Linked DNA regions of Homo sapiens: region 1 is linked to region 2. The links are contacts of gene promoters, found by promoter capture Hi-C in human tissues and cell types (Jung and others, 2019). All regions are on one chromosome and are shown on one strand. Each heading gives the region's core, a stretch centred on a gene start or on the middle of the fragment in contact. The rest is flanking DNA. Distances are from core to core; before and after follow the strand shown. Region 1 overlaps LSM14A (LSM14A mRNA processing body assembly factor). Region 2 holds the start of PDCD2L (programmed cell death 2 like).

Evidence for each region. The method cuts DNA at HindIII sites, captures the fragments that hold promoters and counts their contacts. A contact is called where the count stands out against the background at its distance.
Region 1: a fragment that was not itself captured here is called in contact with the fragment with the promoter of PDCD2L in region 2 in 1 of the 25 tissues and cell types used here (mesendoderm cells).

Annotation. Positions count from the first base shown.
Region 1 is chr19:34,191,441-34,196,466 of GRCh38, reverse strand. It overlaps LSM14A (LSM14A mRNA processing body assembly factor), which reads right to left. Exons shown (of 10, transcript NM_015578.4): 2 at 1,826-1,989. Among named protein-coding and RNA genes, the nearest start is that of LSM14A, 21 kb to the right of the region's middle. The HindIII fragment of the contact is 5,517 bases long and covers 1-5,026 here.
Region 2 is chr19:34,401,901-34,407,392 of GRCh38, reverse strand. It overlaps PDCD2L (programmed cell death 2 like), which reads right to left and starts at 2,994. Exons shown (of 7, transcript NM_032346.2): 1 at 2,855-2,994; 2 at 2,578-2,744; 3 at 2,403-2,463. The coding sequence starts at 2,962. It overlaps GPI (glucose-6-phosphate isomerase), which reads right to left. Exons shown (of 18, transcript NM_000175.5): 18 at 4,980-5,492. The HindIII fragment of the contact is 14,760 bases long and covers 1-4,364 here.

The DNA.
Region 1 (5,026 bases), core at 1,151-3,650, 210 kb after region 2:
TTCAGTATCTGTCTATAATGTGCCAATTATACTCAATGTGACTTACAAATACTTTTTTCTACAATAAACTCCCCATTTGAATTAAGAGTTTTATAGATTGAGGAAAGAATTAAAGTTACTTAAGTAAAGTAACTTTGCTTAAAGAAAAATATGAGAAAAATCACACTTAGTAATAATGAGTTTTAGTCTGATGTTGATATAAATCTCACGTATGATTTTACTCTTATTTTCAATCATTTGAGGCCTACTATTAAATTCACAGACGTAGAAACAAACATATCCCACATAAAACCATTTACATTTTTACTTATAGTTACATTAAGCTGAGGAACATTTTATAAAAACTTTAACTTAAACCTAAAGCATATAAAATATATAACATATATTAATACATGTATACTTCATATATTATCTTACTATAAACTGTTTCATAATATAAACATGAAGTGTATTAAAGGCTACCAGGACATACACTCACTGATGGCAGGACCTTTTCTGTGTGTTCACCACTAGTGTTAAGCACATGCCAGATACTCTGTAAATACTACTGAATGAATGAATAAGGAGATCAAGTAGAAGTTTATGATGATTGGAAGAAGTTATTCAACACCATTTTCATATGCGCTCTCTTAGTTTTTCTCCTTCCATAAAACCGATTACTCAAATAACTGGTTTCCTGGAGAATTATCAAAAGCCATATAAAAGAGACAGTAAGGTAACTCCAGTGTTTGGTGTAGGGAGCTATCTCTATTAAGAATGTGTCTCTTCCTTCTCCATTTAAAGAGATTCACATTTCCACTTCAGGCTTCCTTTCACCAAAATAAGACTTAACAAGGGTAGGGGTAGATGAGAGTAGAGAATTTCTCCAGCTTATGCTGCAACAAAATTTACAATTCCTTATTAAAAAGCTTAAATTGGGAGATTTAAGAGCTGATCTAAATATGTTAAAATACATTGATGTTTGTGTTTTCTTATTATATAACATTGCAGGCCAGGCACAGTGGCTCATGCCTGTAATCCCAGCACTTTGGGAGGCTGAGGTGGGCGGATCACCTGAGGTCAGTAGTTTGAGACCAGGCTGGCCAACATGGTGAAACCTCATCTCTACTAAAAATACAAGAATTAGCCGGGTGTGGTGGTGCATGCCTGTAATCCCAGCTACTCAGGAGGCTGAGGCAGAAGAATCACTTGAACCTGGGAGGCGGAGGTTGTAGTGAGCCGAGTTCACGCCACTGTACTCCAACGACTCTGTCAAAAAAAAAAAAAAAGAAAAAGAAAAACAAAACAAAAACCAACACTGCATATTATAACATATGCAGAACAATGTGATTTTGCTTTTTTTTCCCCATTAAGCCTAATAATCTTACCTAAGAGTAGCTGTTATTGCCTTGGTTTGCAATATAAACCATATCTCAATAGCATGGTAGCACGGATCCTAGATTCTGAAGCAGGCTGCCTGGATCTGTTCAAATTGTGGCTCCATCTGAACTTCCTCACTTGTTAAAAGTGAGAATAATTATAGTACCAACCTCAGAGGGTATCTTATATGCACAGCACTTCTACAGAGTAGCCTTCAATGTTAGCTATGGTAATTGTTGTTGAAATTAGAAAATATTTCATAATAAATTCCTCAGCTGTTTCTTACCTTAGTTCTAATTTATGATACAAAGAGAAAAACCTAGATGAGAACATTATCCAGTAATTTCAGGTATCCCAGTAACTTGGAAATGATAAGCTACATGAACATTCAACTAGAGAGAAAAAAGCCAAGGCTAACCCTGTGCGGAGTTTACCTGTACTCCAAGACAAATTTACCATCAGTTACCTGAACAATAGCTGGGTCTTGAGGCAAAGAACACTGTGGTTTTGGTGGCTCACAAACAGTAAGGTCTTTAATGTCACTCCCACGGAATATAATGTATTCAAAGACTTCATCTCGAGGTGGTATTGGACGATCTGTCGGTCTGTCTTCTGTACCAAAGGATCGAACTGGCAAGAAAACAAAGGATATGAGATGTGTGACTACTCATCACATTCAGGTAGTACCCCAGATTCTAAATGTTGTATTTCAAGTACTAAGCAGTAGTTCTGAAATGTCTGAGAAAGTATTCATTAATCTATAGCTAAAAAAGTTTTTTTAAAGAGGAAAATAGAGTGGCTTTTGCCCGAAGTTAAATATATGCAATATAAAAGACTATCTGTATTATGAGGTTGTGTTCCTCTTATATTTTTATTTATTTGTATCTTTAGTGGTTGTAGTGGGGTGTTAAAATGTCCTTTCATTATTTATTTATTGATGAGACTGGGTCTCTGTCCCCTAGGCTGGAGTGCAGTGGTGTGGTCATGGCTTCCTGCAGCCTCAGCTTCCCGGGCTCAGGCGATCCTTCTATCTCAACCTCCCACGTAGCTGGGACCACAGGCATGTGCCACTAAGCCCAGCTAACTTTTTTTATTTTTTAGTAGAGATGAGGTCTTGCTATTTTGCACAGGCTGGTCTTGAACTCCTGGCCTCAAGTGATCTTCCTGCTTTAGCCTCTCAATGTGCTGGGATGAAAGGCCTAAGCCACTGTGCCTGGCTCACGGTTAACTTATTTTTAATGTCCTCATTCGACAAAATAAAAATTAGCAACCCATGTCTTTCTTGGGGAAGGAGTGGGAGACAAAGATTCCTCCAGTCTACAAAATCTCAAAGTTTGGGTATTGACCTTTGGGACACAGAGAGCAATGAAGGTATTAATAACATTTACCTTGCTGAGCAGTAAGTCCTCTAGAAGCCAAGTCAAGCAGCTGCCAGCTACTCAGCCCCATGGGACAGCTTGAAATACCCTAGTTACCTAAAATATCTACCATATAATTAAATCTGATTATTTTAACAATGAAGACAGCATTACTCAAAGTTAAACTGGGGACCACCTGCAACACAGTAAACTGGCTACGAATAAAGATTTCTACCGAATCTTTTTGCTGGGGACAGGGTCCAAAAATCTGCATTTTAAGCCAATTTCTGGCTAGGCACAGTGGCTCATGCCTGTAATCCCAGCACTATGGGAGGCCAAGGTGGGAGGACTGCTTGAGCCCAGGAGTTTGAGACCAGCCCTAGCAACACAGTGATGTTCTGTCTCTACAAAAAAATAAACATTTTTAAAAATTAGCCAGGTGTGGTAGTGCATGCCTGTAGTCCCAGCTATAAGGAGGCTGAGGTATGAGGATCGCTTGAGCCTGGGAGATTGAGGCTGTACTGAAGCGTGGCTGCACTGCAGCCTGGGTGACACAGCAAGACCCTATTTCAAAATAAGTAAATAAAATAACCAAATCCCCAAGTTTCTTATAAATACATAAGTTTCAGGTTCATTGTCCTGGGAGATTTCTGAAAATGTCTGCATCCATACAGAAGTTCCAAATAGAGAATATGAAACATCATATTTCATTTAAAGAGTACCCTAAAGGAAGTAAACCCCTTAACATTTCTATTTTTTTTCTTTTTTTTTGAGATGGAGTTTCATTCTGTTGCCCCAGCTGGAGTGCAGTGACGCAATCTTGGCTCACTGTAACCTCTGCCTCTTGGGTTCAAGCGACTCTCCTGCCTCAGCCTCCTGAGCAGCTGGGATTACAGGCGTGTGCCACCATGCGCAGCTAATTTTTGTATTTTTTTTTAGCGGAGATGGGGTTTCACTATGTTGGCCAGACTGGTCTAGAACTCCTGACCTCAAGTGATCCATCCGCTTCGGCTTCCCAAAGTGCTGGCATCACAGGCGTGAGCTACCGCGCCTGGCCCCCTTAGTATTTTTAATGCATACGCTTTTTTTTTTTTTTTTTTTTTTTTTTTTTTTTTTTGCAGAACTGATGCAGCGCCTCATGCCTGCAATCCCAGCACTTTGGGAGGCCAAGGTGGGCAGATCACTTGAGGTCAGGAGTTTGACACCGGCCTCAACAAAATGGTGAAACCCCATCTCTACTAAAAATACAAAAAATCATTAGCTGGGCATGTTGGCATGCACCTGTAGTCCTAGCTGCTCAGGTGGCTGAGGCGGGAGGATTGGCTGAACTCAAGAGGCAGAAGTTGCAGTGAGCCAAGATGGCGCTCCTGCACTCCAGCCTGGGTGACAGAATGACAATCTGACTCCAAAAAAAAAAAAAAAAAAAAAAACAACAAAAAGAATGTTATTTCAGTGTAAATAATGTCCTACACTCTTATTCTAAAAGTTCTTTCTAGTACTTATGAGACTTCCAGGAAAGACAGTGGCACAGGTAGTTTGGCAGAAGATCCTTCCCTAAAACTAAAGGAAAGAAACAAAAAGGAAGTTAAAATATCCCTAAAATCATGACAAGTTCTCAAACTCATACCACGAAATTTTATTAAATAGTATCATTCAGGTACAGAATGAGTTAGTTGAAACTGAAAGACCAACCCCAGAATCCATACGTAAGTATCCTCTGCCCTCTCCTGCCCCCCAGAGAAATTTTGACTAGCATCTTCAACTTGCTAAGATGGGGACAGGGACTGCGGAATGCCCTACCTGAAGCTCCCTTTCTCTGATGGCCAAACAGTACTTTAGCAGGCAGGAGGATTTTATATTTTTACCTTTATCCAAAAGGAAGGATAAGGAGGAGAAAGGACTAATTACAAATAAATCAATCTCACCCCTAACCTCAGTACCATCAAAACAAATAAAGTCTCATGCTTCCAAAGTAGCAGATGAGATCATCCTGAAGCAGAGAGGGAAAAAGTCAAAGGCCCTTCTTCTACAAAATTAGAGAAGCTCTATTAAGCTTCCTAAGGCCTAACAGAGCTTAGCCAGGTGAATTCAGAGTCAAGTAAAAAGAGAATCTGCATTTCACGTTTTGGCAAGCAGCAGGTACTGAAAGGACCTACTAAAGAAAAAAAGAGTAGAAAAATCAGGGAATCAAGAAAAATTTTACAGGAAAGATGGAAAGAAGGGAAGAAAAGAGGGAAAGGAGGGAGGCAATGATGGAAGGAAAGAAAAAGGTGTATCAAAATAAAGAAAAAAGGCAGTAAAGAAGAAGA
Region 2 (5,492 bases), core at 1,745-4,244:
CCAAGGCGGGTGGATCACGAGGTAAAGAGATCGACACCATCCTGGCTACACGGTGAAACCCCATCTCTACTAAAAATACAAAAATTAGCTGGGCATGGTGGTGTGTGCCTGTAGTCCCAGGTACTCAGGAGGCTGAGGCAGGAGAATTGCTCGAACCTGGGAGGCGGAGGCTGCAGTGAGCCAAGATTGTGCTACTGCACTCCGGCCTGGCAACAAAGCGAAACTCCATCTCAAAGAAAAAAAAAAATCTGGAGTGAGCCGGGCATGGTGGCTCACGCCTGTAATCCCAGCACTTTGGGAGGCCGAGGCGGGTGGGTTGCCTGAGGTCAGGAGTTCAAGACCAGCCTGGCCAACATGGTGAAACCCTTTCTCTACTAAAAATATAAAAATTAGCTGGGCGTGGTGGCGAGTGCCTGTAATCCCAGCTACTAGGGAGGCTGAGGCAGGCAGGATAAGCGCTTGCATCCGGGAGGTGGAGGTTGCAGTGAGCTGAGATTGTGCCATTGCACTCCAGCATGGGCAACAAGAGCGAAACTCGGTCTCAAAAAAAAAAAAAAAAAAAAAAAGGAAGAAAGAAACCTGGAGCGGGAAGAATAAGGAGATGACGGTCAAAGAATACAAAACCTCAGTTATTCAGGAGGAATGTGGGTTTTTTTTAAGTTCTACTGCACAGCATGAATATAGTTAATAATAGAGTATTGTGGCTGGGCACAGGGGCTCAAGCCTGTAATCCCAGCACTTTGGGAGGCCGAGGTGGGTGGATGACAAGGTCACGAGATCAATACCATCCTGGCTAACATGGTGAAACCCTGTCTCTACTAAAAATTTAAAAAAATGAAAAAATTAGCTGGCCGTGGTGGCGGGCGCCTGTGGTCCCAGCTACTCTGGAGGCTGAGGCAGAATGGTGTGAACCCAGGAGGTGGAGCTTGCAGTGAGCAGAGACGGCGCCACTGCACTCCAGCCTGGGCAACAGAGCAAGACTCCGTCTCAAAAAAAAAAAAAAATAAGAGTATTGTGTATCTCCAAATTGCTAGAGGAAATTTCAAATGTTCTCACAAGATGTTAAGTATTTGAGGTGATGAATGCATTAACTAGCTTCATTTAATTATTCCACATGATATTCATGAATCATAGCCATCACTTTATACCTCATAAATTTATACATTATTATAAACTGTCAATTTACAGTTAAAAAAAAAAGTTGAAGAAATCCAGGAGGAAGTCTCCATCTCCCTTTTGTTTTTTTGGCAGGGGACAGGGTCTGGCTTTGTGGCCCAGGCCGGAGTGCAGTGGCACAAGTGTAGGTCACTGCAGCCTCAACCTCCTAGACTCAAGCAATCCTCCTACCTCAGCCTCCTGAGTAGCTGGCACTACAGTTGCGTGGCCATCATGCCTGGCTAATTTGTTTACTTTTTATAGAGACGATGTTTTGCTATGTTGCCCAGACTGCTCTCCCAACGTTTTTTTTTTCTTTTGTTTTGTTTTGTTTTGTTTTTACGGAGTCTGTCACCCACGCTGGAGTGCAGTGGCATGATCTCAGCTCACTGCAATCTCTGTCTCCCGGGTTCAAGCGATTCTCCTGCCTCAACCTCCCTTGTAGCTGGGATTACAGGTGTCTGCCACCATGCCCGGCTAATTTTTTGTTTTTGTTTTTAATAGAGACGGGGTTTCGCCATGTTGGCCAGGCTGGTCTCGAACTTCTGACCTCAGGAGATCCGCCCGCCTCGGCCTCCCAAAGTGCTGGGATTACAGGCGTAAGCCACCGCGCCCAGCCTGGTCTCCAACTTCTGAGCTCAAGCAATCCTCCCACTTCAGCCTCTCAAAAAACGGTGGGATCACAGGCGTGAGCCACCATGCTGGGCCTCCATCTCCTTTTAACAAAGGAGTTAGAAAATAAAAATAAAGTAAAATAGAAGAAAAAAAAAACTCTCACAAAACCTTAAGAAAGGCCGGGCGCGGTGGCTCATGCCTGTAATCCCAGCACTTTGGGAGGCCGAGGCGGGTGGATCACCTGAGGTCGGCAGTTCGAGACCAGCCTGACCACCATGGCGAAACCCCGTCTCTATTAAAAATACAAAATTAGCCGGGCGTGGTGGCATATGCCTGTAATCCCAGCTACTAGGGAGGCTGAGGCAGGAGAATCGCTTGAACCTGGGAGGCGGAGGTTGCGGTGAGCCGAGATCGCGCCATTGCACTCCAGCCTGGGCGACAGAGCGAAACTCCGTCTCAAAAAAAAAAAAAAAAAAAAACTTTACGAAAATAGCATTTTATGGTTCTTCAGAAAAGCAAAAAACACTCCAGTGTACTTCAAAGAACACGGCTTTAAAGTCTGCCCCAAACTATTCTCTGGAAAATATCCTCAAATGACAGAAAAACAATAACATGCCAATCACAACCTTTACCTGAGCGTCCTGCGCCTCTCTCTCTGGCACCTGCAGGCACTGGGAGCGGAACACCTTCCAGCTTCGGGGTGAAGACAAAGGGCCGTGAGGGCTGCACCCCGACTCCAGCCCGCCGGCCCGCCCCAGCCCGCTGGAAAGGACACCCCTGGAGCAGCTCTGGGACTTCCCCGCCTACCTGCGCGCACCGCCGGTGCTACAGCCGGGGCAGGCGCACGCGAACACGTGCAGCAGACGGTGAAACGGGGAGCCTTCCAGCGGGCAATACACCTGCACGACCAGAGCGAGCGGCTGCCCGCAGCGCTGACACACGGGCCTGGGCGCAGCCACGGTGGGCAGAGCATCCTGAGGGGACAGAGGAGGCGCTCAGACCCCGACTCCCCCCAGGACCTCGCCCACTCCCTCCGCACCCTTCAGCAGCACCCATCGACCCCAGCTCCGGCACCCGCCCTCACCGGAATGCCGCCCAGCTTGCTAGCAGTCCAGGCACCCGGCCCTGTGGGGCTGCCGTGCACCGGCGCATCTCGAAGGCCCAGCAGCACCGGCTTCAGAACGGCCGCCATGGCCGCCGGGCGACCAGGTGAAAACGCAAACTACGGCGGCCTCTCTGCGCACGCGCAACGCTACGCTAAAATGATAACCCCGCTCCCTTACTAGGATCCGATGCGGAGGCGTGGCTTTAAGGCGCGTGCGCTCAGGTCCCAGAGCCACAGAGGCGCCGCTGGCGTCAGGGGCTCGAAATCCCGGAGTCCCAGGCATTATGTGCCCCTTAATGCGCTGTGATAGGAAGTACACACCATCTACTAGGAAGTAGTTTTGCCAAAAAGCTAACTTTCTTTTTTCCTTTTTTTCCTGAGACGAGGACTTGCTATATTGCCCACACTGGTCTTGAACTCCTGGGGTTCAAGCGATCCTCCCGCCTCCGCCTCCCAAAGTGTTGCGATTACAGGTGTGAGCCACCAGAAAAAAGCCTTCCCGGAAAATAAAAATTTTAGGTGGGATAATGGTATTATCAGTCATTAACAAGAACAATAAAGTTTTTTAAAAAGTTAAAGTTTTTAATTTTTAGAGAAACACACCAAAATGCTTATAGATGAAATACCTCCGATTTGCTACTACATAATTAAGGTGGTGGGGTGTAAATACAGTAAGATTGACCATGAGTTGATAATTGTTGAAATTTGGTGCCAGGCACATGGAGATTTATTCTATTTGGGTTTTATATGTTTGAGATTTTTCAGTTTTTATTTTTGTTTTGTTTTGTTTTGTTTTTGAGACAGAGTCTTGCTGGGTCGCCCAGGCTGAAGTGCAGTGGCGCCATCTCACTGCATCTCAGCCTCCCAGGTTCAAGTGATTCTCCTGCCTCAGCCCCACCCAGTAGCTGGGGTTACAGACGCCCACCACCACGCCCGGCGCCCGGCTTTTTTTTTTTTTTTTTTTTTAGACGGAGTTTCGCTCTTGTCGCCCAGGCTGGAGTGCACTGGCGTGATCCCAGCTCACTGCAACCTCTGCCTCCCAGGTTCAAGCGATTCTTCTGCCTTAGCCTCCCGAGTAGCTGAGATTACAGGCATGTGCCACCATGCCTGGCTAATTTTGTATTTTTAATAGAGATGGGGTTTCTCCATGTTGGTCAGGCTGGTCTCGAACTCCCAACCTCAGGTGATCCGCCCACCTTGGCCTCCCAAAGTGCTGGGATTACAGGCGTGAGCCACCATGCCCGGCCTTTTTTGTATTTTTAGTAGAGACGGGGTTTCACCATGTTGGCCAGGCTGGTTTCGAGCTCCTGAAATCAAGTGATCTGCCCACCTCGGCCTCCCAAAGTGTTAGTATTACAGGTGTGAGCCACCGCGCCCAGCCACACAATACAGTTTTTTCAATTCCTGCAGCACAACATGGGTGAATTTCAAAAGCATCATGGGAAGAAGCCAGACACAAAAGGCGCCATTCTGGTAAACGCAGAACTTCGGAGGGAAAAAAATCAGTTCAATGGTAGTCAGGAGTTGGGATGAGGGAGTAGGACTGGACCACAAGTGTCAGGAACTTTTGAGGGTGAGGAAAATGCTGTATATCTCATCTGTAATGGTTCTAAGACTGTATATACACTTGTGAAAACTCATAACTGTATACCAAAGAAAGGTGAATCTTACTATATGTAAATCACACCCCAATAAACCTGACTTTTTAAAAATGCAGGCTGCAAAAACATTATTTTAGGATTCATAACGTGGTATGCAAAAGAAATGAATGTTTTCAAGGATTTACACCTCAAAGGAGGAAGCACCAGCCTTTGTGAGGTTTGGCTCTAGCCCAGCAAGGATCTGGAGATGAAACCCATTTACTCCTTTTTTTACCACACTTCATCCTGATAGCTTTAAAAGGCCCTGTGATGCTGGGCACAGTGGCTTGCGCCTGTAATCCCAACACTTTCGGAGGCCAAGGCAGGAGGATCTCTTAAGCCCAGGAGTTGAAGATAAGCCTGGGCAACACAGTAGTATTACCAGGGGAGGATCTTGACTACAAGTCGTCCAGGTTCTTGGAATATTGAACAAAGAGGTGGACAAAACACACAAAGCAACAAAAGAAGGAACAAAAGCACAGATTTATTGAAGCAAAAGTACATTCCAGAAAGCGGGATGAGGCTCAAGCAAGTGCCCTGTGTAGAAAATCTGGGGTTTAAGTACCCTTTAGAGGTTTCCTATTTGGTTACACCCTATGTAAATAAAGACTTGGCCTGCCACCAGTCAGAGGCTGAAGTGAATGCTCCTTTGTCTCCAGACCCTATTCTCTGGCCTCAGTGGGATCCTATCACTACAAAAATTTATTTTTTATTTTTCTTATTTTTTTTTTTTTACAACAGTACACTGATCTACAAAAATTTTAAAATGAGCCGGGCGCGGTGACTCACGCCTGTAATCCCAGCACTTTGGGAGGCCAAAGCAGGCGGATCATGAGGTCAGGAGATCAAGACCATCCTGGCTAACACGGTGAAACCCCGTCTCTACTAAAAATACAAAAAATTAGCCGGGTGTGGTGGCGGGCACCTGTAGTCCCAGCTACTCGGGAGGCTGAGGCAGGAGAATGGCGTGAAGCCGG